Linked DNA regions of Homo sapiens: all the other regions are linked to region 2. Evidence: promoter capture Hi-C in 16 types of primary human blood cells and fetal thymus (Javierre and others, 2016). All regions are on one chromosome and are shown on one strand. The core of a region is centred on a gene start or on the middle of the fragment in contact, and the rest is flanking DNA. Distances in the headings are between cores, read along the strand shown. Region 1 overlaps EIF4H (eukaryotic translation initiation factor 4H). Region 2 holds the start of TMEM270 (transmembrane protein 270). Region 3 holds the start of EIF4H (eukaryotic translation initiation factor 4H). Region 4 has its middle 19 kb from the start of EIF4H.

Region 1 (6,400 bases), core at 3,901-6,400, 330 kb before region 2:
GAAAGTAGTTGAAGCAAAAGAGTTACTCTAGGCTCCCACCTGAACAGCCCTTGCCTGCCTTACTAAAATTTAGTCGTGGTCCGGGGTCCTCCATCACCAGACAATGCTCCTACCTCAAGGTAGGCAAGGTCTGCCTTGGCCAGGCCCTTCCAAAGTCAGCCAGGACTTTGCCAAACACGCATTCATGCCCCGCACCTTGCCCACTCAGCTCTTCTTTGTCTGCCTAAGTCAATTTTAACACTATCCAATACCAACCTATAGCAGCACCTCCCCAGAGTCAGGATCTGCTGTCAGGAAGCAGCAGCCCTCCCAGCCATGAGGGGCACCTAGAATTTCGTTTACAAGCAGTTGTTAAAAGAAGCCACATGTTGTGTAAATGCTTGATTTCTTCCATCTTGGGAAAAAAATGTTCCTTTACCTAACCAAAAACAGCCAGACTTTCAAGGTTTCTGCCTGGTTGGGAAAAGGACATTTTTAGCAAGTGAGGGGAAAAAATTGGCATCCTATTTCTAATCATCACCAGCTTTTAAAATAACTTCACTCATCCCAGAATTAAAATGACAGGAAGACTCTTCCATTTCAATGGTGCTTCCCAAATTTAAAATTGTTACATTCCATGAGCAGCTAAAAAGAACTCAAAAATAAAGGCAAGCATTAAATATTACGTAAGGTTTTCTTTTATTTAAAAGATCATTCACAAAATACCATATCCATAGATTTACTTTCTGTCATATAGCTGAATGTGTTAAGTGTTTGGAATTCCATTCTTACATTTAAAAGTCAACTGGATTGCCCAGCAGTTTAGATGCATGTGTTTTGTTCTTTATCTTATCCACATTGAAGATGTAAGTAGGTCATCTGAAAGCATCGGGTTTGATTACACCACATAATGCATGTCTTTCTGAAGTTAAGTGTTGGTGTTACACAAATGGTTCTTATCTCAGAAGCAGAGAAGCTGACAGGTGGAAGGAAGGAGAGAGAGTTCTGTGGATTGCTGAGGCCTTGTAACAAGACACAGTAGGAAAAGCCCAGGATGACGGCTGGTGACCAAATACTAAGCACATTCCGCTGGGTGCCCCAGGCCACCCTGGCCCTGCCATCACCTGGCGAGGGCCTCTTTCCCAGGCTCCTGCTGCCGGCCGCCCCCAAACTGCTCCCCATAGGACAGACTGGGACTTGGGTACTGAAGGATTTTTCATCTGTTCACACGCAGGCGTTCAAGCTCAAAAGCCTAACCCCTAGCACTCCCACATAACTGCTGAACCCTGCACATGGGAACAGTCCAGTGTGTCCCCAAGATGTGGCCGCAGACCTAGACAGCTGCAGTCCTCTACTGCTATCTGAAGGTTCCTGACAGCTCTGCATAGTACAATTTATCAAAGGAAATGAGTAAAGTGCCAGATTCTAGACCCATTTTGGCTCTGAACTGAAGGGGAGGTGGGAAGCACAGTATCTCATTATGTTGCCTATACTAGGAACAGATCCACACAACACACAGGCAACAGGGATGGGGGGAAACGCTGCGTCAGCGCCGCAGTCAGCCCAGTGCAGCACCAGCACCACCCCCTCCACCCCCAAAGCGCCTTGGCCCAGCAGAAAAGAAACCCGCTGGCCATTCACTGCACCCAGCCAGAGAGGCCAGCCTCCACCACGCACGGCGAAAGGAGTGAACTAGCTGGGACACACACACGTGTGAATGCATGCAAGCATTCACTGCATCTTCTCCGTGGACTCCCTACCGCTCTTCCATAGCCCCCCCTTTCAGCCTCACTGTTTCTCGTGTGAGCCTATCTGCTTGGACAGTCCACTCGGGAGGGGGTCATGGAGCCAGGACTCCCTCTAAATAGGAATGGAAAGGACCCTGCAGATATTTTTATCCTAGTTGTGAAAACAAGGTGCCTCTGATTCTCTATATCCATCACAGCTGAATACCAACAAGGTCTCTGCTGTTCCCTCTGTCAGTGACTCTGGTTTTTGTTGGAAGCCCCAGCAATACAGAACTCAACATGCAGGTCAGAAGAGAAGCACTGAGGGAATGAAAGGAAACGCCTGGAGTTGGGCCAGTGTCTAAAGTAAAGAGAAAGCAAAGGAAAAATGACGCAGCACCGCAGCCCAAACGCCCCCCCACGGCGGCCACCTCTGCTCCTCCGAGGAACCCCATGTGCTGCTGGGAAAACAAGGAGCAGGAGAAAAAGGACAGAAGGAAAATGGGGAAGCAGCGGAAGAAAGAAAAAAACGCACAAACAGGCACTAGATAGATACAGCAAAGCCCAGAATGTACTAAAAACCACTTGTTAACAGCTGACATGCACTCACAAGCTGTGTTTCCGCTGTGAGGAGGCCAATGGCAGGCGCAGGAGTGGCGGCTGCAGGACGGCTGCCCGGGGACTCACCAGGCTGTGGTCCTGCTCTAACCCCCCACGCCCCATTCCCTCCCAACCGCAGGCTCATTCTTGCTCCTTTTGAACGACTTCCTCTCTAGGCCTGGCACCCCCGAAGATAGCAGAGTTGGGATTGGCTACTTGATTGAGGGGCGTCGCGACTGTTCGAGGTTTAAGCTGGAGTCGTGGTCTCTGTGCTCTTTCCTCTGGGGGAGAAAAAGCAGAGTTTGTCAGAGTGTGGATCCCATTCCATATCCAGCAAAACGACCATGCTGATGTTGCTGTCAGCAAACCAGCCCACTTTCTAAAATTCACCTGGCCTGCTACCCCAACAGCAGATGCTCTAATGACCAAGGTGAACTTGCTATTCCAGAGAACGTGGGGATCTATGCCGACAACTCTGTGTGCCGTAGAACGCCAAGTCCCCACGGGGTGTGAACCGGCCATGATCATCCCATCAGGACAAGATGCCCTCCACTGACACATGAGCCCGTACCTTCTGTGGGTTCTCTGAAATCCATGTTGGATCCACGGAGGGGAGGGCCATCTCTGAAGCGGCTGCCCATGGGGGGGCCTGTTCGCCGGTCGCCTGGGCGACTACCTCCCCTGCCCCCTAAGAAGTCATCCCTGAAGCCTGAGGAAGAAACAGGACACTGAATTACTTTTCAAACTATCGTCTCCAAGCTGCTTATAGAATAATGTTCTGGGAATTGTTTGAGTTTCATTTTAAATTCTTTAGTTTGTCCACTATCTGAAGTCTCTCCAAAATAAAGTGTGTTAAAAGTGGGTCCAAATGCCAATGTGTGGAGTAATGACAGCGCTAACAGACTTCCCAAAGAAAAAGGAATCAAGATCTTAGGAGAGCAAACAAACGAGCTGTTTACATGCTCAGCTTGCATGAAAAGTAGAAAAATATTAATACCACGAAACTGTATTTTAATACGGCTTAAGCAAAACAAGAAAGCCTCAAAGCAGGTTGAACTCTATTTTCTAATAGAAATCTATACAGCTATTTTAAAAGATAAACCTGAAATTTAGAAGTATTTACAACTCAGAACACAAAAATCACAAGAAAACGCTATATGAAGACAAAATAAAAACACAAAGTCCCAATTTTCCTGTTTTGGCTGCGTTTTAGGTGTGGGCCATTCTACAAGCAAAGCACCTGTGTGGTAAACAAAGCAGTTATCCGAAATTGGCCATGCCCTACACAGAGGGGCATGAGCAGAGAGCACAGCGCCTCACCCCCACCGGCGCCTCCTGTGGGGGCAAAGCGTTCTTTCCCCATTCATTTGTGTGCCTGCTAAGTGGGCTCTTGGCAGAAGTAAACTGCATCTCATTTAGAAATGCTGAATTCCCACTGGTGTGTAGGAGGAAAGAGTATTTTCTCAATGGTCTTAAGGGGCCTTCAGGCTTGTACTTCAGTGAAAGCTAAACTTTAACTGTATAACCTACTGATGTTAAAATTTGGTAAAAAGACTGGTTCACGCCTGTAATCCCAGCACTTTGGGAGGCTGAGGTGGGAGGTGAGTATAGGAGTTCAGGACCAGACTGGGCAACACAGTGAGACTCACTCTCTACAAAAAACACAAAAATTAGCTGGGCATGGTGGCGCACGCCTGGGGTTCCAGCTACTCATGAGGCTGAGGCAGGATAATCGCTCGAACCTGGAAGGTAGAGGGTGCAGTGAGCCAAGATCGTGCCATTACACTTCAGCCTGGGTGATGAAGTGAGACTCTGTCTCAAGGAAAAAAAAAAAAAACTGGCGAAAAGAAGTTAAACCATAATTAAACAAATGAGCTTGCTGCTGTTGGTTGCGCACTCAGGGGGTGCCACTGCTACTCTCTGCGAGAGTGGTGCCAAGGCTCCAAGCTTTCAGGGAGCTTGTCTTTGAGAAGAACCCCCAGAGCCCGCAGTATGCACTATACAGTCATCCTCATTATCCACAGATCCCATATTTGCAAATCCACCCAGTCGCTAAAATTCATGTGTAATCCCAAGCTAGATACCAGCAGCATTTCTCCAGTCAGTCCTGGACCTGCACAGATGCGACGATCCCAGCTGAGGCAGAAAACGATAATGCTCTGCCTGTTTCAGTTATTAGCTGTCAAGTCTTTTCACGATGAGTGTCGGGTGTTTTGCCCTTTGGGCTTTTTCTGGTGACATCGCTGTCTGAAGTGGCCCCAGGTGCAGTGTGAAGTGCTGTCTGCTGTTCTTAAGTGCAGGCTGGCTGTCAGGTGTCTTACAGACAAAACCGGTGTGGGATGAGCTTTCTAACAGGCTGAAATGATGGCACCACAGACTACTTACTACAGCTGGCCCTGAGTTCAATGTTAACACTATTAAATGAATCAACACTAACATTAAATGAGGCGTCTTTAAAATCAAGGTCACATAGGCTGGGTGTGGTGGCTCACGCCTGTAATCCCAGCACTCTGGGAGGCAGAGGTGGGCAGATCACCTGAGGCTGGGAGTTCGAGACCAGCCTGACCAACACGGAGAGACCCCGTCTCTACTAAAAATATAAAAATTAGCTGGGTGTGGTGGTGTGCGCCTGTAATCCCAGCTACTTGGGAGGCTGAGGCAGGAGAATCGCTTGAACCCTGGAGGCGGAGATTGCAGTGAACCGAAATCATGCCACTGCACTCCAGCCTGGGCAACAGAGTGAGCCTCTGTCTCAAAAAAAAAAAAAAGAAAAAAAAAAAAGTCACATAAAGCAATGTTAGGTATGATCAGCTGACGAAAATGTTGTGATCTGTAGCACACAGGAGCAGCACCGCACGGGCTCATTCAGTGTTCTAGCAACTCCACAGAACCACCTCCAATGATAAGCGCTGACTGCATCACCTGTGGTGGGGGCCGATTTCTATTCTTTAAAGGTGGCAAGGGTTTTGGAAACCAAGGGATCTCACACCCAGTTCAGAGACTGAGTTAAATAATAAATTTTAACAAACCAAGTAATGAAAGCAAGTCTGAACAGATTTAGACCAATAAGAGCACTGCTTTAGGGGAAATACACTGGGAGGCATACAGTCGAGTATAAGGTCCTTTACAAAGTATTTTACCCACATTACACAGTTCAGTGAACAAGCCTAGTTAGTATTAAAACATTTAACTTCACGTTTCCCCCAAACTAAACTGTGAAGTGTACCTTTCCACGTGAGTACAAAGTAAATTTACACCCTTTACTATGAGATTAAATGATTTCGACCACCAATGTCTAGCGTGAAACAAATAGCTCACACCACGCTGGTGAAGCAGATGAACAAGGATCTCTCATCAAATCTGTTGGTGGGGGCCGGGCGCGGTGGCTCATGCCTGTAATCCCAGCACTTTGGGAGGCCGAGGCAGGTGGATCACGAGGTCAGGAGATCGAGACCATCCTGGCTAACATGATGAAACCCCGTCTCTGCTAAAAATACAAAAAATTAGCCGGGCGTGGTGGTGGGTGCCTGTAGTCCCAGCTACTTGGGAGGCTGAGGCAGGAGAATGGCATGAACCCAGGAGGCAGAGCTTGCAGTGAGCCGAGATCGCACCACTGCACTCCAGCCTGGGCAACAGAGCAAGACTCCGTCTCAAAAAAAACAACAACAAAAAATCTGTTGGTGGGTTTCTAGGAAGCAAACTATTCATGAGAATCTTCAGAGTTTTCTTTACAAAGCTTAGTTTAACACTGGCTATTTCTGATGATGAAATGTTTTTGCTTTCTTGGTACTTTTCTGTTGCTCTATTTTGTTTTTTACATGAGCAGGTATCATTAAAAAAAATAGCACCATCCTATTAAAAAGTAAAAAAGATCTACTCTCGCAAATAACGTATAAAGTATCAAATTAGCCATTACTCCATCGAGTGAGCCCACATAGGGTTTGAGATGTCACCAAAACACTGCAGTTCCCACCAGAACTGGTGGCGGCCAGGCCATGGCCGTGTTCACTGTGTCTCTGCTTGAGCGCCAGTGGCCAAGCTAAGCCAAGGGTAGAAAGACGTTAGTATGTGGGCAACTTCTATAACACCTGCGA
Region 2 (6,930 bases), core at 740-3,239:
TGCAGAGCTTGGGACGTGGAGGGTGGAGCTATGCTGAGACCAAAGGGTCCAGCAGGGAGAAGAATTAGGGTAGAGCTAGGAAATAGGACCTCCCAGGTTATGGTGCTGAGACCAGGGAGGAGGGAAACCTATGATATCCCACATGATCCCACAAGATCATTTCTATAGGAGAGGAAACGGGCTCAGAGTGGTGAAGTGATTTGCCCAAATTCACACAGCTAGAGGGTAAAACAGCCAAGATGCAAATCTTTTTTTTTTTTTTTTTTTTTTTTTTTCTGAGACAGGGTTTTGCTCTTGTTGCCCAGGGTTGCCCAGGCTGGAGTGCAATGGTGGGATCTCGGCTCACCGCAACCTCCGCCTCCCAGGTTCAAGCGATTCTCCTGCCTCAGCCTCTTGAGTAGCTGGGATTACAGGCATGCACCACCACGCGTGGCTAATTTTGTATTTTTAGTAGAGACAAGGTTTCTTCATGTTAGTCAGGCTGGTCTGGAACTCCTGACCTCAGGTGATCTGCCCGCCTCGGCCTCCCAAAGTGCTGGGATTACAGGTGTGAGCCACAGCTCCCGGTCCCAAGATGCAAATCTAATGGTGTCTGTCTTTCTCAACTGCCCCCTGTTATATGATCTTGGCTGACTGCAGCCTTGGCCTCCCAGGCTCAATCTATACTCCCACCTCGGCCTCCTAAGTGTGACTGAGTTGTGACCCCGACCACAAGCATGTGTATGTTTAAAAGAGATGAATGGGCCAGGTGCGGTGGCTCACACCTGTAATCCCAGAACTTTGGGAGGCCGAGGTGGGTGGATTACGAGGTCAGGAGTTTGAGACCAGCCTGGCCAATGCGGTGAAACCCTGTCTCTACTAAAGATACAAAAAATTAGCTGGGCGTGGTGGCGCACGCCTGTAATCCCAGCTACTTGGAAGGCTGAGGCAGGAGAATTGCTTGAACCTGGAGGTGGAAGTTGCAGTGAGCCGAGATCGCACCATTACACTGCAGCCTGCGCGACAGGGCAAGACTGCATCTGAAAAAAAAAAAAAGAGAGAGAGATGAATGAGCCAGGCGCAGTGGCTTATGTCTGTAATCCCAGCACTTTGGGGAGCTGAGGCGGGCAGATCACAAGGTCAGGAGATCGAGACCATCCTGGCTAACAGGGTCTCTACTAAAAATACAAAAAAAAAAAAAAATTAGCCAGGGATGATGGCACGTGCCTGTAGTCCCAGCTACTTGGGAGGCTGAGGCAGAAGAACTGCTTGAACCCAGGAGGCAGAGGTTGCAGTGAGCCGAGATCGCACCACTGCACTCCAGCCTGGGCAACAGAGCGAGACTCTGTCTCAAAAAAAAGAAAAAATGAATGGGAAAAACAATGATTCACCCATAGGAGTGACCCTCAATAGAGAAAATGCTGCCAGGTGCGGTGGCTCACACCTATAATCCCAGCACCTCAGGAAGCTGAGGTAGGAGGATCATGTGAGGCCAAGAGTTGGAGACCCGCCTGGGCAACGTAGTGAGACACCATCTCTACAAAATACAAAAATTAGTCAGGCGTGGTGGTGCACACCTATAGTCCCGGCTACTTGGAGGCTGAGGGGGGAGGATTGCTTGAGACCGGGAGTTGGAGGCTGCAACGAGCTGAGCCGGCACCACTGCGCTCCAGGCTGGGCGACAGAGCGAGACCCTGTCTCTAAATAAAGAAAAGAAAAGAAAATGTCAGCACTGTAGTTTGGAGTGGGGCTTCTGGGAGATGTCAGATTATTCTGGAAGGCAGGCAGCCACCTCGTTCCACTGGATGGGACAGGCAGGGCTTGGGCCCGGCAGCTCTGAGGTGGCTCTGTGAAGGGCCTGGTGTGTGGTCCCCACCCCACTTACCCCCAGCCCCCACTCACCAGCACTGAGAGCCTCGTAACCTGCAACAGGATCCCCAAAAGGCTGGATCTGACTGGAGGAAGGGCCTCCATGTCTGGCCTCCCCCACCTACTCCAGCTGGGAGAAGCAGGGTGACCTCACAGATGCCACAGGGTGGGGACCAAGTTACCATGGGGACCCGGTTGCCGCCAGTGACCCACTGCCTTTACCTGGCTCCTGCCGCTCCACTGCTTCCTCTGAAACCTCAGTCCACGTCTGAGCCCAACACGGCCAAGGAGGTCTTAGAGCAAAGCTTCCTTCGGGTCGGATTTCCCCAGATCTTGGAACAGGAATCAAGTGCCGCCTAGGAACGGGGTTCATGCCTGGATTCCCAATGCTTTGGGAGGCCAAGGTAGGAGGATCGCTTGAGGCCAGGAGTTTGAGACCAGCATGGGCAACATAGCAAGACCCTGTCTTACAAAAAAACAAAAAAAGAAAAAAATTAACCAGCCTTGGTCATGCACACCTGTAGTCCCAACTACTCAGGAGTCTAAAGTGGGAGAATCGCTTGAGCCCAGGAGATAGAAGTTGCAGTGAGCCAGGATCACTCAAGCCTGGGTGACAGAGCAAGACCCTATCTCTAAACAAAGAAAAAAAATTGAAGGGTGATGAGTTTATTTGGGGAGTGGGCCCTGCAAGCATCCATAGGAAGTCAGAAAGTGAGGCAAGGGGCCAGGCACAGTGGCTCACACCTGTAATCCCAGCACTTTGGAAGGCCGAGGCAGGCAGATCACGAGGTCAGGAGTTTGAGACCTGTTGGGAACAGGCCCCCAAAATCTGGCCATAAACTGGCCCCAAAACTGGCCATAAACAAAATCTCTGCAGCACTGTGACATGTTCGTGATGGCCATGACACCCACGGTGGAAGGTTGTGGGTTTACCGGAATGAGGGCAAGGAACACCTGGCCCACCCAGGGCGGAAAACTGCTTAAAGGCGTTCTTAAACCACAAACAAGAGCATGAGTGATCTGTGCCTTAAGGACATGCTCCTGCTGCAGATAACTAGCCAAACACATCCCTTTATTTGGGCCCAATCCCTTTGTTTCCCATAAGGGATACTTCTATGGGAATCTAATCTAATCTATAGTTAATCTAATATCTATAGAAACAATGCTAATGACTGGCTTGCTGTTAATAAATACGTGGGTAAATCTCCGTTTGAGGCTCTCAGCTCTGAAGGCTGTGAGACCCCCTGATTTCCCACTTCACACCTCTTTATTTCTCTGTGTGTGTGTGTGTGTGTGTGTGTGTGTGTGTGTGTGTTTAATTCCTCTAGTGCTGCTGGGTTAGGGTCTCCCCAGCCAAGCTGGTCTCAGCAGAGACCAGCCTGACCAACATGGTGAAACCCCGTCTCTACTAAAAATACAAAAAAAAAAAAAAATTGGCCTGGCATGGTGGCGTGCACCTATAATCTCAGCTGCTCAGGAGGCTGAGGCAGGAGAATTGCTTGAACCCAGAAGGCAGAGGTTGCAGTGAGCTGAGATCATGCCACTGTACTCCAGCCTGGGCAAGAGAGTGAGACTCTGTGATAAAAAGAGGGAAGGGGAGGGGAGGGGAGGGGAGGGGGAGAGAGAGAGAGAGAGAAAGAAAGAAAGAAGAAAGAAAGAAAAAGAAAGAAAGAGAAAGAAAAAGAAGGAAAGAAAGAAAGAGAAAGAAAAGAAAGAAAAAGAGAGAAAGAAAAAGAAAGAAAGAAAGAAAAAGGAAGGAAGGAAAGAAAAGAAAGAGAAAGAAAAGAAAGAGAGGCAAGGACAGATGAGTTCATGAGCAGGGTTTGAGTTCAGACAACCGGGGCTGATCCCCAAAATCCCCTGGAAAATGGTGCAGAACGCACCTCAGAGTCACCCCACCCAAGGAGCATGAATACTGGGGTATTTATCTTCCATGACCTGTCTGCTTCCTGTTGGACATTAACTCCCGCTGAACCTCCAATCTTACCAGCACAAACACCAGAGAAAGCCCTCCAGCAGATGGTCGGGTGGGGGTCTTGCAGCAGGCGGCTCAAGCAGTGTGCATGGAAACTAAGGCAGAGGACTCTGGGGTAGGGACAGCAAAAAGGAATCCAGAACAAATAAACCCCTAGACATGTGATGATGGGAGCCTTGACCAGGGCTGAGGCCCTGGAAATGGAGACAACAGATGCCAGAAATCTGTAGCAGGTACAACAGATAGAATTGGAGGATGTCAAGACCCACGATGATCTGAGACGTTGCCCAATTTCATGCTAACAAGTTAGCCAACCAGAGCTCCACAGCTGCCACAGGAAGACATGAGACTCCCAGGTCAGAGATCAAAGACAATGTTACTCATGGCAATAGCAGTGAACTAGGTTATAAGCATTTTCCATTCATTCCTTGAGCTCCAAATCCCACAGGGTGATATGACAAGGGCCAGATGATGCCTGGCAGTATCTGAGGTGGGTGTGTTACAGGAGAGGTGGCTTGAGTTTAGGGAACCCAAATCTTTTCTTTTCTTTTTTTTTTTTTTTTTTTTTTTTTGAGATGGAGTCTTGCTCTGTCACCCAGTGCAGTGGTACAATCTCGGCTCACTGCAACCTCCACTTCCCGGGTTCAAGCAATTCTCCTGCCTCAGCCTCCCAAGTAGCTGGGATTATAGGCGCCTACCACCATACCCGGCTACTTTTTTGTATTTTTAGTAGAGACAGGGTTTCTCCAGCTTGGCCAGGCTGGTCTCAGACTCCTAACCTCAGGTGATGCACCCGCCAGCGCCTCCCAAAGTGCTGGGATTACAGGTGGGAGCCACCTCGCCCAGCCTTCTTTTTTTCTTTTTTTGAGATGGAGTCTCACTCTGTCGCCCAGGCTGGAGTGCAGTGGCACCATCTCCACTCGCCGCAACTTCCGCCTCCCAGGTTCAAGCAATTCTCCTGCCTCAGCCTCCCGAGTAGCTGGGATTACAGGCTCGCACCACCAAGCCCAGCTAATTTTTGTATTTTTAGTAGGGATGGGGTTTCACCATATTGGCCAGGCTGGTCTCGAACTCCTGACCTCAGGTGATCCGCCTGCCAGCGCCTCCCAAAGTGCTGGGATTACAGGCATGAGTCACCGCGCCTGGCCAGGAAACCCAAATCTTTTCTAATGTGCAGTAAGCAGGGCTGCCTTTTGCCCCAGAAGGAGACATTATGTCTTCCAAGGTTGTCTGATATACAGATATCCTAGAAAAGAAAGTCCAGGGCAAAAGGCAATCCATTAGTGCCTCACTCACAAGACATACAGAAATGTGAAAGACACATAGACAGAGGCATCCCAACAGAGGAATGAACAGGAAAAGAAGTAAAGCGAGACAGGGGTCAGGGATACCCCCAACCCAGAAGACTTGAGTGAAAGGCAGAAAGTAGCGCTGCCCACCAAGTGGGGGCGGGGAAGAGAAGGAGTAGGTTTGGGGAGAGAGGCAAAGGGATTGCTGGGGGTCAGAAGGTGGTGGCTGAGCCGGGTGCAGTGGCTCACTCCTGTAATCCTAGCACTTTCAGAGGCCAAAGCAGGTGGATCACTTGAGGCCAGGAGTTCAAGACCAGCCTGGGCAGCATGATGAAACCTGGTCTCTACCAAAAATATAAAAATTAGCTGGGTGTAGTGGTGCATCCCTGTAATCCCAGCTACTCAGGAGGCTGAGGCAAGAGAATCTCTTGAACCCGGGAGGCAGAGGTTGCAGTAAGCCGAGATCAGGCAACTGCACTCCAGCCTGGGTGACAGAGCAAGACTCCATCTCAAAAAAAAAAAAGAAGGGAAGGAAGGAAGGAAGGAAGGAAGGAAGGAAGGAAGGAAGGAAGGAGGGAGGGAGGGAGAAAAGAAAAGAAAAGAAAGAGAGGTGGCTGAGACTGGGATTTGCAGTTTGTTTTCCCTCCTCTCTTTGGTTTGCCACCACCATCACCTGGTATCCCTGTCCCCAGAACTCCACTGCCACAGAGGCTGAGCTGATATCTCCAGCCTCATACTGACCACACTCCCCGTGGTCAGTGTGGGAGCTAGAGCAGAAGAGACCTCACTCTGTCCCACAGCCCCTATGGGCAGCCCCATGGGAATGCTAGGCACATGTCTCAGTCCCAGCTCTAGTCACCTGCCCTTCCCTGCCCCCACCAAAGCCCTGGTCTTAGTCCCCAAGCTAGACTCCAGCCAGGGCTCTTTGTGGCTCTGTGGCTGCCCAGACCACAGGAACAGGTGCCCACAGAAGCCTGGATACCTAGTGTCAGAGGTCAGGAGCCTCCACTGGGGTGTGAAACCGACTCAGGATGTCCCCTAAGCTAACTGAGGGAGAGCAGTCCCAACCACGCAGGTCCACAAGCCAGAAACCCCGGGATCACCTTCTCATCTTCCTGCCTTCTCCCCTTCCTGCCAAGCCACTTCTGAAGGCAAGGGCCACGAACCTGCCTCACTGCTGCATCCCATGCCTAGAACGGTGCCAGGGGCACAGAAGGAGCTCTGTGTAAATTTGTTGAATTAAGAAATGAAAGCTGGCTGGGCACAGTGGCTAATGCCTGTAATCCCAGCACTTTGGGAGGCCAAGGCTGGTGGATCACCTCAGATCAGGAATTCTAGACCAGCCTGGCCAACATGGCGAAACCCTGTCTCTACTAAAAATACAAAAAAATTAGCCGGACGTGGTGGCACGTGCCTGTAATCCCAGCTACTCAGGAGGCTGAGACAGGAGAATTGCTTGAACCTGGGAGGCAGAGGTTGCAACCAATGAGCCAAGATCATGCCACTGCACTCCAGCCTGGGTGACAGAGCAAGACTCTGTCTCAAAAAAAAAAAAAAAGAAGAAAGAAAAGAAAAGAAAAATGACGGCTGGGTGCAGTGGCTCAGGCCTGCAATCCCAGTGCTTTAGGAGGCAGAGGTGGAAGGATTGCTTGAGCCCAGGAGTTTGAGACCAGCCTGGGCAATATAGCAAGACCCCATCTCTACAAAAAAATTCAAAAATTAGCCGGGCATGGTGGCATGTGCCTGTGTTCCCAGCTACTCAGTAGGCTGAGGCAGAAGGATCGCTTGAGCCCATGAGGTCGAGTCTGCAGTAAGCCT
Region 3 (6,282 bases), core at 1,257-3,756, 320 kb before region 2:
TAAGCCAGACATTTAGAAGGCTCCAAAAATGTGAGTACACAGAAGGCTCCAAAAATGTGAGTATACATGAAAGACAGGAGAAGAATGTGCAGAACAAAGGGAGGTGACGGCCCCCCTAGCCCTGAACTGGAAGGCCATGCTTAACCAGAGACTCATCAACCGTGGAGCAGCCACATACTTGAGCTCCTTCAGAAGGTCCTGATCAAGACGGAAAATCACATAAATCATGACGTGGGGAAACTTCGAAGAACATTCGACTTACACAAAAGAAGTCTTAGACGTACATACAGCTGCCATTAGGTTCTATGAAAATGATGCAATCACACTCATTTCATGCCCGGGTGTGCAGGTCTAATCAGCATGATGTAAAAGCAACCAGGCGACAAATACTCTCCTGAACCTTCCAGGGGAAGCTGGAAGCCAGAGTGTGATCCTGGAAAGACATTCAGAGTCTGCTTTGTACGTTCTAAGCTTCCAGGGAGACTCCTTAAAATTGTGAAGTCTTTCCAGAACACTAAGCTTAATTTTTCTTTTTTTTTTTTTGGAGACAGTCTCTCTCTGTCGCCCAGGCTGGAGGAGTGCAGTGGCATGATCTCAGCTCAATGCAACCTCCGCCTCCCTGGTTCAAGCAATTCTCCTGCCTCAGCCTCCCAAGTAGCTAGGATTACAGGTATGTGCCGCCACACCCGTTTTGTATTTTTAGTAGACATGGGGTTTTGCCACGTTGGTCAGGGTGGTCTCAAACTTCTGGCCACAAGTGATCCGCCTGCTTCGGCCTTCCAAAGTGCTGGGATAACAGGCATGAACCACTGCACCCAGCCACAAAGCTTAATTTCTAATAGAAACATAAATTGAAGGCTGGGTACTGTGGCTCACACAATGAGCCTTGGGAGGCTGAGGCAGGAAGATCCCTTGAGCCCAGGGGTTTGAGACTAGCCTGGGCAACATAGAGACACTCTGTCTCTACAAAAAAATACAAAAATTAGCTGGGCATGGTGGCGCACCCTGTAATCCCAGCTACTTGGGAGGCTGAGGTGGGAGGATGGCTTGAGCCTGGGAAGTCGAGGCTGCACTGAGCTATGATCCTGCCACTGCACTCCAGCCTGGGTGACAGAAGGAGAGCCTATTTCATAAATAAATACATGTTTCTAACTCATATGTGGGGAAAACGAGGCTCAGAGAGGTGAAGAAACTTACTTCAGATCACACAACTAACACATGGCTGAACTGATGAAACTCTGGTCTGCCTTATTCCAAAGCCAGGGCTTTTACATGAACCGTCATGCAGAGACCTCTTAGCAAATCCAAATATTTCTGGTAACACTTTTCATAGAGGATAATGGTTTGGAACTAAGCAATGGAACACTTGGAGTGAAGAAGGATAACAAACCTAAACGACTTGACATTTGACATGTAAACAGCATTTTAAAATAAGCTTTTCAATAGCTTTACAGGCCCTAGCATCAGTGAAAACTAGCTGTAGTTTTTATACACTGCTTTCCTTCCTATTACATACAAATCTTAAAATATGCTCAGAGACAGGAAGTAGAATGGTGGTTGCCAGGGACCTGGGGGAAGGAGGGCAATAGGGAATTACTATTCAAAGGGGACAGGGTTTTAGTTTTACAAGCTGTAAGAGTTAAGGAGCTGGATAGTGGTGATGGTTATACATTACGAATACACTCAATATCCCTGAAATGTATACTGAAAAATGGGTAAAGTGGCACATTTTATGTTATGTATATTTTACCACCATAAAAATTTTGGATAAAAATATGCTCAGAAATTTAGACAGACATGCTAAGTTTAAAGATTCAAAGGTTAGAATTCTAAACTCCTAGGCTGGGCGTGGTAGCTCATGCCTGTAATCCCAACACTTTGGGAGGCTGAGGCGGGAGGATCACTTGAGTCCAAGAGTTCAAGACCAGCCTGGGCAACATAGTGAAACCCATCTCTATTTAAAAAAGAATTCTAAACTCCCTAACTGAATCCTGATAAAGAATAAATTTGGAGTTTTGCCAGTTTTTAGATGGCACCATTTCAGCCACCTCAATTCTTGCCACCTCCAATTTCCACCCTAATTCTCAGGATCGGTGGTTTTCCACTAAGCACTCATAGCTTTGTTGCAATTAGAAATATAAAATCAGTATTACTCTGCACTTTACTGCCAATGGTAGATGAGAAACTGGAACCTCAAAAAGATAATTTAGCAAACTGCAAAACAAAGTCCATTCAAGATCTGGTACAATCAACTCTTGATCATTTGGAATTTTGTTTTGATTTGCTTGCTGAACAATGCAGTCCCTGGTTCTCTCCCTGGCTGCTGGGGACATGCCCTTACAGGCTCGGGGGAAAAAAGCAGTGGTTCAATACTGTTTCCTGACAACTGCACTGGTTATTAAACACAACTACGAAATAAACTTAGGAAGATGTATAACTACCAAACTATGTTTTATGATGATAACTGTTCATTTTAGGCCTACCATTTCTTTCACCTGTGACCCAAGTAATTCAGAGGTGAGATGTACGAGCCTGTCTGAGGCATTTTAGACAAGGGAGAAGGTGCCTACACAAGTACCAAACAATGCAGTGTTAAAACTGCTTTCCATAGGTGGCAATCTTCTATGATGCTTAAGCATTGTAAAGCAGTGACATTTGTTCATGTGGACATAATTAAAATAATTGAGGCCGGGCGCGGTGGCTAATGCCTGTAATCCCAGCACTTTGGGAGGCTGAGGCAGGAGAATCGCTTAAACCCGGGAGGTGGAGGTTGCAGTGAGCCGAGATCACACCATTGCACTCCAGCTTGGGCAACAAGAGTGAAACTCCATCTCAAAAAAAAAAAAAAAGAATACACATGTATAAATGAATATGTAAATTCACCAACAAGTTTTTAAAACTACTTCTGAAAGTAGCAATACTTTATGTAGTTTCACATTAATATGAAGCCAAATAGAAAATTCCAAGTAAGTGAGACATAGAAGATGCTTAACAGTAAAGAGACTTTCTATTAGGAAGTTCAAGTGATGCACAGTGCTACCTAGGAAACTCTCCTATCAGTTTTTGGAGTACACCTGGGGCAAATGGCTAATATTTTCATCTGCTGTGGAGATTTGAAATTAATAGCATCTTAATAGAATTTTACTTCTGATTGTTCCTGGCACCCCCAAATGTCAAAATTTGACACCAGAAGAGCTGGCAAATGTGTCTGAAGGAAATTTTTTTAAATCCCCACACTCAGTTTAATAAGGTCACCTTATTGTAGTCCCAATGCAACTAAAACTTAAATTGACCACGCTGTTTAAGAAGAATTTTTCTGGGTACTTCTGTGAACGTTTTTTGGAACTAGGAAAAAAAAAAAAACCCTAGTTATTAAATTTCGAAATGACTTGAGAACAAATTTGATGTTTAGAAACCTAACCCAAAGGCGATAATTTCATGTCATCCAACATTTACTTCTTTTTTTATTAGCAAATAAAATGTTCTTTGGAATGACAATAGCTCCACCTACACCGGCACACTTCCACGTTACAGTATCATGAACATTAGCTACACTCCTGCCCCGAAACAAGCTTTTGTCTGAGCCGTTCCCAAACCAAGGTATTAAAAGTGATCATTCTTTACCAAACAAAGATACTTTTGGACTGCAACCCAGGAGACTGAACACCTCAGTGTGTATTATTGTGGTGTTATCCTGGGAAAGTAATCCTTTCTGCAAGAAAACACAAAGCCCAAGTGTGTCCTTGACAAACAGCAAGATGTTCATAGCCTATATTCTAACGAGGCAACTTGTATTTAAAAAATAAAATAAAAAAAAGTGCAGAGTCCTGGAATTAAACACCATGAGCTCTCTATTCAAAGATGTTTCTTTTAAGCAAAGTGTTTCAATTATACATAGTTGTCTGCATTTGACAACAATCAGGACGACGCTAAATGCGGTTCCTTCTCCAGATCAGAGCGAGAAACCAAGGAGAAATGAAATTGTGCCAAAGAGCACGTAGCACCTGTCAAGGCACTGTGACCCAAGAAAGATTAATACAAAGAAGCTACGATGGATTTATCTCCTTGGTCTCCCCCCGCCCGCAAGGAGTCGTACCATCCCCGGGCCAGAGCCGCCAAATCCCTGCCTCACACGTAAGGGGAAGGGAATCGCCCCTCTTGGCTGCCGACCTTCCCCAGTCGGCCGGCCTCGTGGCGAAGGGGCCAGGGGCCTGCAAGGCGGGCAGGCAACAGAGGGCCGCGAAAGAGGCCGGGACCGGAGCGGGGCAGGCCGTGTGGCCCGTACCCCAGCGCCACAGCTCAGCCCCGCACTGGTCCTACCGTAGGGGGGATGGGGCTGGAAGCGGGCGCTCGTCTCCGGGCATCGGCGCCGCCGCGGCCAAGGCAGGGCAAAAACCAACACGTTGTCGTTGGCGGGAGGCAGTGGAAGGGATCCGCCCCGCAAGCAAGACCCCGGGAGCCCAGCCGCCGCCGCCCCGTCTCCGAGCGCGCCATTTCCAGGCCCCGGCCCTCCAGGCGCCGCTCCTAGGCCTCCGCGGGCCCCCGCCTCCCGCCGCCCCGGCTGAGCGCAGGACGGCCGCCACCCTGACGGCCCCGACTCCGCCGGTCCCGCAGCCCCCGACGGGGCCCGCGCACGCCCGCCTCACCCTCTGCCGCCGCCGAAGCTGCTGTAGGCCCGATCGTCGTAGGTGTCGAAGTCCGCCATTTGCCGTCTCCGCTCCGAGAGGAACCAGGGTGAGCGAGGAAGGACCCCGCAATATAACTCCCCCCGCCCCGCCGCCGGGGCTGTCCGCCGCGCCGCCTGATCGCAAATCCCTTGGACGCAGGCACGCGCACGCGCGCGCGCGCACGCACGCACGGACGCTGGCCGCGCAGCGCCCGGCCCTGGGCCCACCGGCAGCTGCCTGCCCCGTGCGCTCTGCAGCCCACGTGGTGCGGCGGCGTCCCAGCTGGACGCCTGCCCGGCCTACGCGGCCCATTATGTGCTGGCCCTGGGGTGCGCCCGTGGCTGCCTCCTATCCCCGCCGCACCACGCCCGTGCGCGCCGGCCTTTCCGTCCGTCGGCGGGAGGTGACCTGGAGAGCTGGGGGGAACTCCCTCTCCAGTTCGCCTGGGACGCTGCCTTTCGGCCTCCATACATGGCGGGGACCTCGGAGGCCTGTCCCGCTTGGACCCCCAAGTGGTCCCCGGGTGACACCCAAGTAAAGGCCACCTCCTTCTCCAGGCAGGAGCTGGCCACACGATGAGGATGCCCCGGAAGGGGGTGCGAGGCGGTGGGATGCAGACACGAATCCTGCCTTCCAGGGCTTACTCGCTGCCTGGGTATTGGGGGGTTTTGAGAGGAGAGAGTATAGGTGATCGGTGACTTAGCAAGAGAGACTGCACATCTCGGTTTTTTGCAGAAGTCGTTGCCTTGGAAAAAGAATTGGATACTGTTGTGGATTCCATCATCTAGCAATAACAAAACATGGTTATGCAGTGGGAATTAATTACACGGGTAAATTTCCAGGTTTGTGATTGAGATGGTAGTAATTGTGGATGCCACGATGTTGACAAACCTTAATTATCTAAGCACACTTTGAAAGAACCTCATAGAATTTTGTTGTGATGTGTACCTAGGTATCTTCCGCTTAACCATTACTTTTTATTATGTATTTATTGGTTCGTTGTTGAGACAGGGTCTCGCTCTGTCGCCCAGGCTGGACTGCGGTGGAACAGTGGTAGCTCACGGCAGCCTTGACCTCTTGGGCTCATGCCATCCTGCCGCCTTAGCCTCTGGAGTAGCTAGGACTATAGGCGGGCAGTACCTCGCCTAATTTGCATTTTTTTTTTTTTTTTTTTGAGATGGAGAATCAGGTTGGAGTGCAGTGGCGCAATCTCATCTCACTGCAACCTCCACCTCCTCGGTTCAAGCAATTCTCCTGCCTCTGTCTCCCGAGTAACTGGGGTGACAGACGTGCACCACCACACCCAGTTAATTTTTGTATTTTTAGTAGAGACAGCGTTTCACCATGTTGCCCAGGCTGGTCTTGAACTGAGATCCACCCGCCTTGGCCTCCCAAAGTGCTGGGATTACAGGCATGAGCCACCGTGCCTGGCTCTAATTTGCTTTGTAAAACATTTATTTGTAGAGACAGAGTCTCACTATGTTGCCCAGGTTTGTCTCGATCTACTGGCTTTTAAGTAGTCCTCCTGCCTCTGCCTCCTAAAGTGCTGGAATTACAAGCATGAGCCACTGTGCCCTGCCAACTTTTATATTTGAGTATCTTCTCCTTCATAGCA
Region 4 (6,030 bases), core at 2,584-5,083, 290 kb before region 2:
TGAGACCCTGTCTCAAAAAAATAAAAATAGCTGGGCATGGTGGCTCACCCTTCTAATCCCAGCACTTTGGGAGGCCGAGGCGGGCGGATCACCTGAGGTAGGTAGTTTGACCAGCCTGACCAACATGGTGAAACCCCGTCTCTACTAAAAATACAAAAGAAGTTAGCCAGGCATGATGGTCTATCCCTGTAATTCCAGCTAGTTGGGAGGCTGGAGGCAGGAGAATCGGTTGAACCCAGGAGGCGGAGGTTGCAGTGAGCCGAAATCGCACTGTTGCACTCCAGCCTGGGTAACAAAAGCCAAACTCTGTCTCAAAAATAAATAAATAAATAAATAAATAAATAAATAAATAAAAAATCGCCCCTTGGGCATGGATTAGGGAGGGAGGGTAGGGGAGAGGGTTGGTGCGGGTATGGGGGTCATGCCTGAATTCCCATTCACGTGTCTTTCTGGACCTGCTTACATCACAGGCCCTAGATTGCTCCAAGCTATTCTCCTTTTCTTAGGAGTTTTGAATTCTCAGGCTGAAACGGATAAGCTTGCTTGTCACTTCTCTGTGTAGATGGGTACATGTTCTCAAGCTGATCCTATAGCTGTAATAGATCTGTTGTCTGATGCTCACAGCAAGTCAATAAGCCCAGATGCCAGGTTGCAAGAGATGTTTCAGGCCTGGTGCAGTGTCTCATGCCTGTAATCCCAGCACTTTGGGAGGCTGAGGCGGGTGGATCACCTGAGGTCAGGAGTTCAAGACAAGCCTGGCCAACATGATGAAACCCTGTCTCTACTAAAAATACAAAAATTAGCAGAGTGTGGTGGCACAGGCCTATAGTCCAAGCTACTCAAGAGGCTGAGGCACAAGAATCACTTGAATCCGGGAGGCGGAGGTTGCAGTGAGCCAAGATCGTGCCACTGCTCTCCAGTTTGGGTGACAGAGCGAGGCTCAGTCTCAAATAAATAAATAAATAAATAAGAATGAGAAGAGGTGTTTCATCATAGAATCACCAAACAAGGAGATGGGAAGAAACCTCAAATCTGCCTCCACAGGAGTTTCGGACTGGGGCTATTCTGGGTCTTGGAGTGGGCTGAAGTGTGGAGGTCATTGATTGGTTGAAGAGTGCAGAGTAAAGTCATGGGACAAGGAGAGGTGCAGCTGTGTTTTGTTGTTGCTGTTGTTTTGAGACAGAGTCTTGGTCTTTCGCCCAGGCTGGAGTGCAGTGACACGATCTCGGTTCACTGCAACCTCCGCCTCCCTGGTTCAAGTGATTCTCCTGCCTCAGCCTCCCAAGTAGCTGGGACTACAGGCTAATTTTTATATTTTTAGTAGAGACTGGGTTTCACCATGTTGGCCAGGCTGGTCTCGATCTCTTGACTTCATGATCTGCCCGCCTCGGCCTCCCAAAGTGCTGGGATTACAGGCATGAGCCACCATGCCCAGCCTCTGTTGGTTTTTTTGAGACAGGGTCTCAGTCAGTTACCCAGGCTGAAGTGCAGTGGCGCGATCTTAGCAATCTTAGCTCACTGCAGCCTCAATCTCCTGGGCTCAAGTGATCTTCCTACCTCAGCCTTCCAAGTAGCTGGAACTACAGGCATGTGTCACCACGCTAATTTTTCTTTTCTTTTCTTTTCTTTTTTTTTTTTTTTTTTTTTTTTTGAGACCGAATCTCACTCTGTCACCCAGGCTGGAGTACAGTAGTGTGATCACGGCTCACTAAAACCTCTGCCTCCCAGGCTCAAGCGATCCTCCCACCTCAGCCTCCCAAGTAGCTGTGACTACAGGTTTGCACCACCACATCCAGCTGATTTTTTTGTTTGTTTGTTTGTTTGGTAGAGACAGGGTCTTGGCTGTGTTGCAGAGACTGGTCTCGAACTTCTGGGCTCACACAATTCTCCCACCTCTGCCTCCCAGGTGGTGTGATTACAGGTGTGAGCCACTGCCCCCAGCCCAGGAAGAAGCTGTGTTCTATGCTGATACCGTTTCTCTGTGGGGATCCTCAAACTGGTTGGTATTAGCTATTTCACAGGAATTTGGGGCCTGAAAAACATCTTAAGCAATCTTTACAGTAAGCCTTATGATCCTAGTGTCAGAGATCCTGTCTGTAGGAACAATGGGATGCAATGGTCAGGAACTAGTGCTACGTGACATTTAGCAACAACGAAGTAGGCCAAAGTGCAGCCTGAAGGATGCTAATTATAACAATATTTCTGTCCGGAACCGGGCGTGCAGTTCTTGTCAACCCTGTGGGGACGGTTTCAGTCCTTTTGGTGAAGGTGTGGCTCCTGAAGGATGAAGTGATCTCAGTTCTAACTCTGTACCTTAGGTGGGCCTCCGCTTGTCTCCCGTACCCCACATGGGATTTAAAACAAGCCTTGGCAAGGTGTAGTGGCTCACACCTGTCATCCAAACACTTTCGCAGGCCAAGGCAGGTGGATCACCTGAGATCAGGAGTTCAAGAGCAGCCTGGCCAACGTGATAAAACCCCATCTCTACTAAAAATACAAAAACTAGCTGGGCGTGGCTGCGCATCCCTCTAATCCCAATTACTCAGGAGGCCAAGGCACGAGAATCACTTGAACCCGGGAGGCGGAGGTTGCAGTGAGCTGACATCACGCTATTGCACTCCAGCCTGGGGGACAGAGCAAGACTCTGTCTCAAAAAATAAATTAATTAATAAATAAAAAATAAAACACAAGCCCTGGCCAGGTGCGGTGGCTCACACCTGTAATCCAAACACTTTGGGAGGCAGAGGCAGGAGGATTGCTTGAGACTATGAGTTTAAAACCAGCCCCAGGCAACATGGCAAGACCCCCATCTCTCCAAAAACTTTAAAACATTATCCAGTTGTGCTAGTGCACACCTGTTGTCCCAGCTAATCAGGATGCGGAGGCAGGAGGATGACTTGAGCCCAAGAGCTCGAGGCTGCAGTGAGCTATGGTTGTGCCACTGCCTTCCAGCCTGGGTGACAGAGCAAGACCCTGTCTTACAATAATAATAATAAATAAATAACCAAAACATAAGCCCCGATTGCTCACCCCATCCTCACTCCGGGGCAGAAGCAATGAGAGCTCACCAGTTGTTCTTTGCATGGATCAGTCTTTTCTCGTTTCTGCCTTTGGAGATTTCCTTTTCTTTCTTGGAAATGCAGCTGTGAATTTGAAATAAATTTTTCTTTTTCTTTTTTTTTTGATATGGAATTTCTCTCTGTCACCCAGGCTGGAGTGCAGTGGCGCAATCTCGGCTCACTGCAAGCTCCGCCTCCTGGGTTCACGCCATTCTCCTGCCTCAGCCTCCCAAGTAGCCGGAGGCTACCCGCCATCATGCCTGGCTCATTTTTGTGTACTTAGTAGAGACGGGGTTTCACCATGTTAGCCAGGATGGCCTCAATCTCCTGACCTCATGATCCGCCTGCCTCGGCCTCCAAAAGTGCTGGGATTACAGGCGTGAGCCACCGCGCCTGGCCGAAATAAATTTTTCTTACATTTTATTGACCATTTTAAGGATTTTGTGATGGGAAAATGTTCAGATTATTTGTTTGTTTGTTTGTTTATTTTTTGAGACAGACTCTTGCTCTGTTGCCCAGGCTGGAATGCAGTGGCACAATCTCGGCTCACTGCAACCTCCGCCTCCCAGGTTCAAGCTATTCTCCTGCCTCAGCCTCCTGAGCAGCTGGGATTACAGGTGTGTGCCACCACACCCAGCTAATTTTTGTATTTTTAGTAGAGACAGGGTTTCACCATGTTGGCCAGGCTGGTCTCGAACTCCTGACCTCATGTGATCCGCCCTCCTCGACCTCCCAAAGTGCTGGGATTACAGGCGTGAGCCACCACACCTGGACCAGATTATTTTGCATGCAAAATCAGAAATACACAGGGAGCTATTCGCTGAGCTATCAAGCACTGGGAAATGTAGCCAATGTGACTGAGGAACTGACTTTTCAATTATATTTCATTTGAATTACTTTTCATTTAAGATTAAGTAGCCACATGTGGCTAGAGGCTTTCATACTGGACAGGGCAGCCGTAGAAAGGAAGGAGGAACTCATCACTGCCCTAGTAGCTGGGACGGCTCAGGTCATAGCCTAATCCCAGGGCGTGGAACCTGCATTCTAACCCTGCCCTTGTCCAGGTCTCCCAGGTCCTTGGTGGAGGTCAAGATAGAAGGAAGTGGTTGGCCTGGATTCCATACCTTGAATTTGGACCTAGGAAGTGGCTGATGAATGGATTAGCCAGCCTGGAGGTCAGCCAGGCCGGAGAGGAAGCCTCAGGGCTTTGGAATAGGCCTTGCCCGTTTCCAGTTTGGGGGTGGGGCACAAAGTTGAGTAGGATCAGGACGACTTTTTTTCTTTTTTTTGAGACGGAGTTTCACTCTTGTTGCCCAGGCTAGAGTGCAGTAGCGCGATCTCAGCTCACTACAACCTCCGCCTCCCGGGTTCAAGTGATTCTCCTGCCTCAGCCTCCCGAATAGCTGGGATTACAGGCATGTGCCACAATGCCCGGCTAATTTTGTATTTTTAGCAGAGAGAGGGTTTCTCCATGTTGGCCAGGCTGGTCTCAAACTCCTGACCTCAGGTGATCCACCCACCTTGGCCTCCCAAAGTGCTGGGATTACAGGCGTGAGCCATTGGGCTTGGCCTGTTGTTTTTATTTTATTTTTTTGAGATGGAGTCTGGCTCTATTGCCCAGGCTGGAGTGCAGTGGCGCAATCTCGCCTCACTGCAACCTCTGGCTCCCCGGTTCAAGCAATTCTCCTGCCTCAGTCTCTCCGAGTAGCTGGGATTACAGGCGTGTGCCACCACACCAGGCTACTTTTTGTATTTTTAGTAGAGATGTTGGCCAGGCTGGTCTTGAACTCCTGGCCTCATGTGATCCACCCGCCTCGGCTTCCCAAAATGCTGGGATTACAGGTGTGAGCCACTGCGCCCAGCCTTTATTTTTAAAAGTAAGTTTACAGCTGGGTGCGGTGGCTCACGCCTGTAATCCCAGCACTTTAGGAGGCCAAGGCGGGCAGATCACGAGGTCAGGAGTTTGAGACTAGCCTGACCAACTTGGTGAAACCCCGTCTCTACTAAAAATACAAAAATTAGCTGGGTGTGGTGGCACACGTCTGTAGTCCCAGCTGTTCAGGAGTCTGAGGCAGGAGAATCGCTTGAACCCGGGAGGTGGAGGTTGCACTGAGCCGAGATCGCGCCATTGCGCTCCAGCCTGGGCAATAGAGCAAGACTCTATCTCAAAAAAAAAAAAAAAAAAAAAAAGTAAGTTTACTTGCACAATATGCAAGATTCAAAAACTATCCATGAGGCCAGGCACGGTGGCTCACAGCTATAATTCCAGCACTTTGGGAGGCCGAGGCCGGGGGATCACTTGAGGTCAGGAGTTCAAGACCAGCCTGGCCAACATGGTGAAACCCCATCTCCATTAAAAATACAAAAATTAGATGGGTGTGGCGGGCGCCTGTAATCCCAGCTACTCAGGAGGCTGAGGCAGGAGAATCGCTTGCACCCAGGAGGCGGAGGTTGCAGTGAGCCGAGATCGCACCATTGCACTCCAGCCTGGGCAACAGAGTGAGTCTCTGTCTCTAAAAAAAAAAAAAAAACAAAAACCTTCCAGGGGTATATGGTATAAAGTTTGTCTCCCGCATACTCTGGGCAACAGGCCATCCAATTCCCCTTCCCAGTGACAACTATTGTCCCTCAACAAGTTCTCAAGGGCCATATGGATTTCCTTTTGACCTGCCAAACAGATCGGGAGTGCCTGTGGGGCAGGGTTGATCTTGTCCGTTCCCCGCAGGCTCTCTGCGGACACTAAGGAAGGGTGTGATGCTTGGGCAGATTGCAGCCATGTGAGGACAGGGGCTGGTAAGAGGGAATATGAGAGCTGTAAGGAGGGCTCCAGCCTCACACTCGACTTTGTGAACCCCTCCCTGGCTGAAGAAAGGACAGCAGCACTACCGACAAGCTATCAACCACCAGCTTCTTGGAGGGTTCAAGGGTGGGAATGGGAATTTGTTCCTGGCCAGTGCCTTCTCCATAAAAT

What was found. The method cuts DNA at HindIII sites, captures the fragments that hold promoters and counts their contacts. A CHiCAGO score of 5 or more calls a contact.
Region 1: a contact is called between a fragment that was not itself captured here and the fragment with the promoter of TMEM270 in region 2, in 2 of 17 cell types (megakaryocytes and M2 macrophages). The highest score is 5.5, in megakaryocytes.
Region 3: a fragment that was not itself captured here is called in contact with the fragment with the promoter of TMEM270 in region 2 in 4 of 17 cell types (megakaryocytes, M1 macrophages, endothelial precursors and 1 more); the score reaches 7.0 in megakaryocytes.
Region 4: a fragment that was not itself captured here is called in contact with the fragment with the promoter of TMEM270 in region 2 in 1 of 17 cell types (M1 macrophages); the score reaches 5.2 in M1 macrophages.

What each region holds. Positions count from the first base shown.
Region 1 is chr7:74,191,356-74,197,755 of GRCh38, reverse strand. EIF4H (eukaryotic translation initiation factor 4H) reads right to left here. Exons shown (of 7, transcript NM_022170.2): 6 at 2,878-3,015; 7 at 660-2,587. The coding sequence ends at 2,448. Among named protein-coding and RNA genes, the nearest start is that of MIR590, 3.4 kb to the right of the region's middle. RefSeq lists an enhancer at 1,116-1,617. The HindIII fragment of the contact is 1,789 bases long and covers 4,256-6,044 here.
Region 2 is chr7:73,856,218-73,863,147 of GRCh38, reverse strand. It overlaps TMEM270 (transmembrane protein 270), which reads right to left and starts at 1,989. Exons shown (of 3, transcript NM_182504.4): 1 at 1,882-1,989. The coding sequence starts at 1,953. The HindIII fragment of the contact is 5,367 bases long and covers 1-2,155 here.
Region 3 is chr7:74,172,807-74,179,088 of GRCh38, reverse strand. EIF4H (eukaryotic translation initiation factor 4H) reads right to left here and starts at 4,733. Exons shown (of 7, transcript NM_022170.2): 1 at 4,647-4,733. The coding sequence starts at 4,705. RefSeq lists enhancers at 3,668-4,180, 4,181-4,694, 4,676-4,970 and a silencer at 4,473-4,982. The HindIII fragment of the contact is 2,137 bases long and covers 1,438-3,574 here.
Region 4 is chr7:74,152,110-74,158,139 of GRCh38, reverse strand. No RefSeq gene overlaps it. Among named protein-coding and RNA genes, the nearest start is that of EIF4H, 19 kb to the left of the region's middle. The HindIII fragment of the contact is 6,585 bases long and covers 541-6,030 here.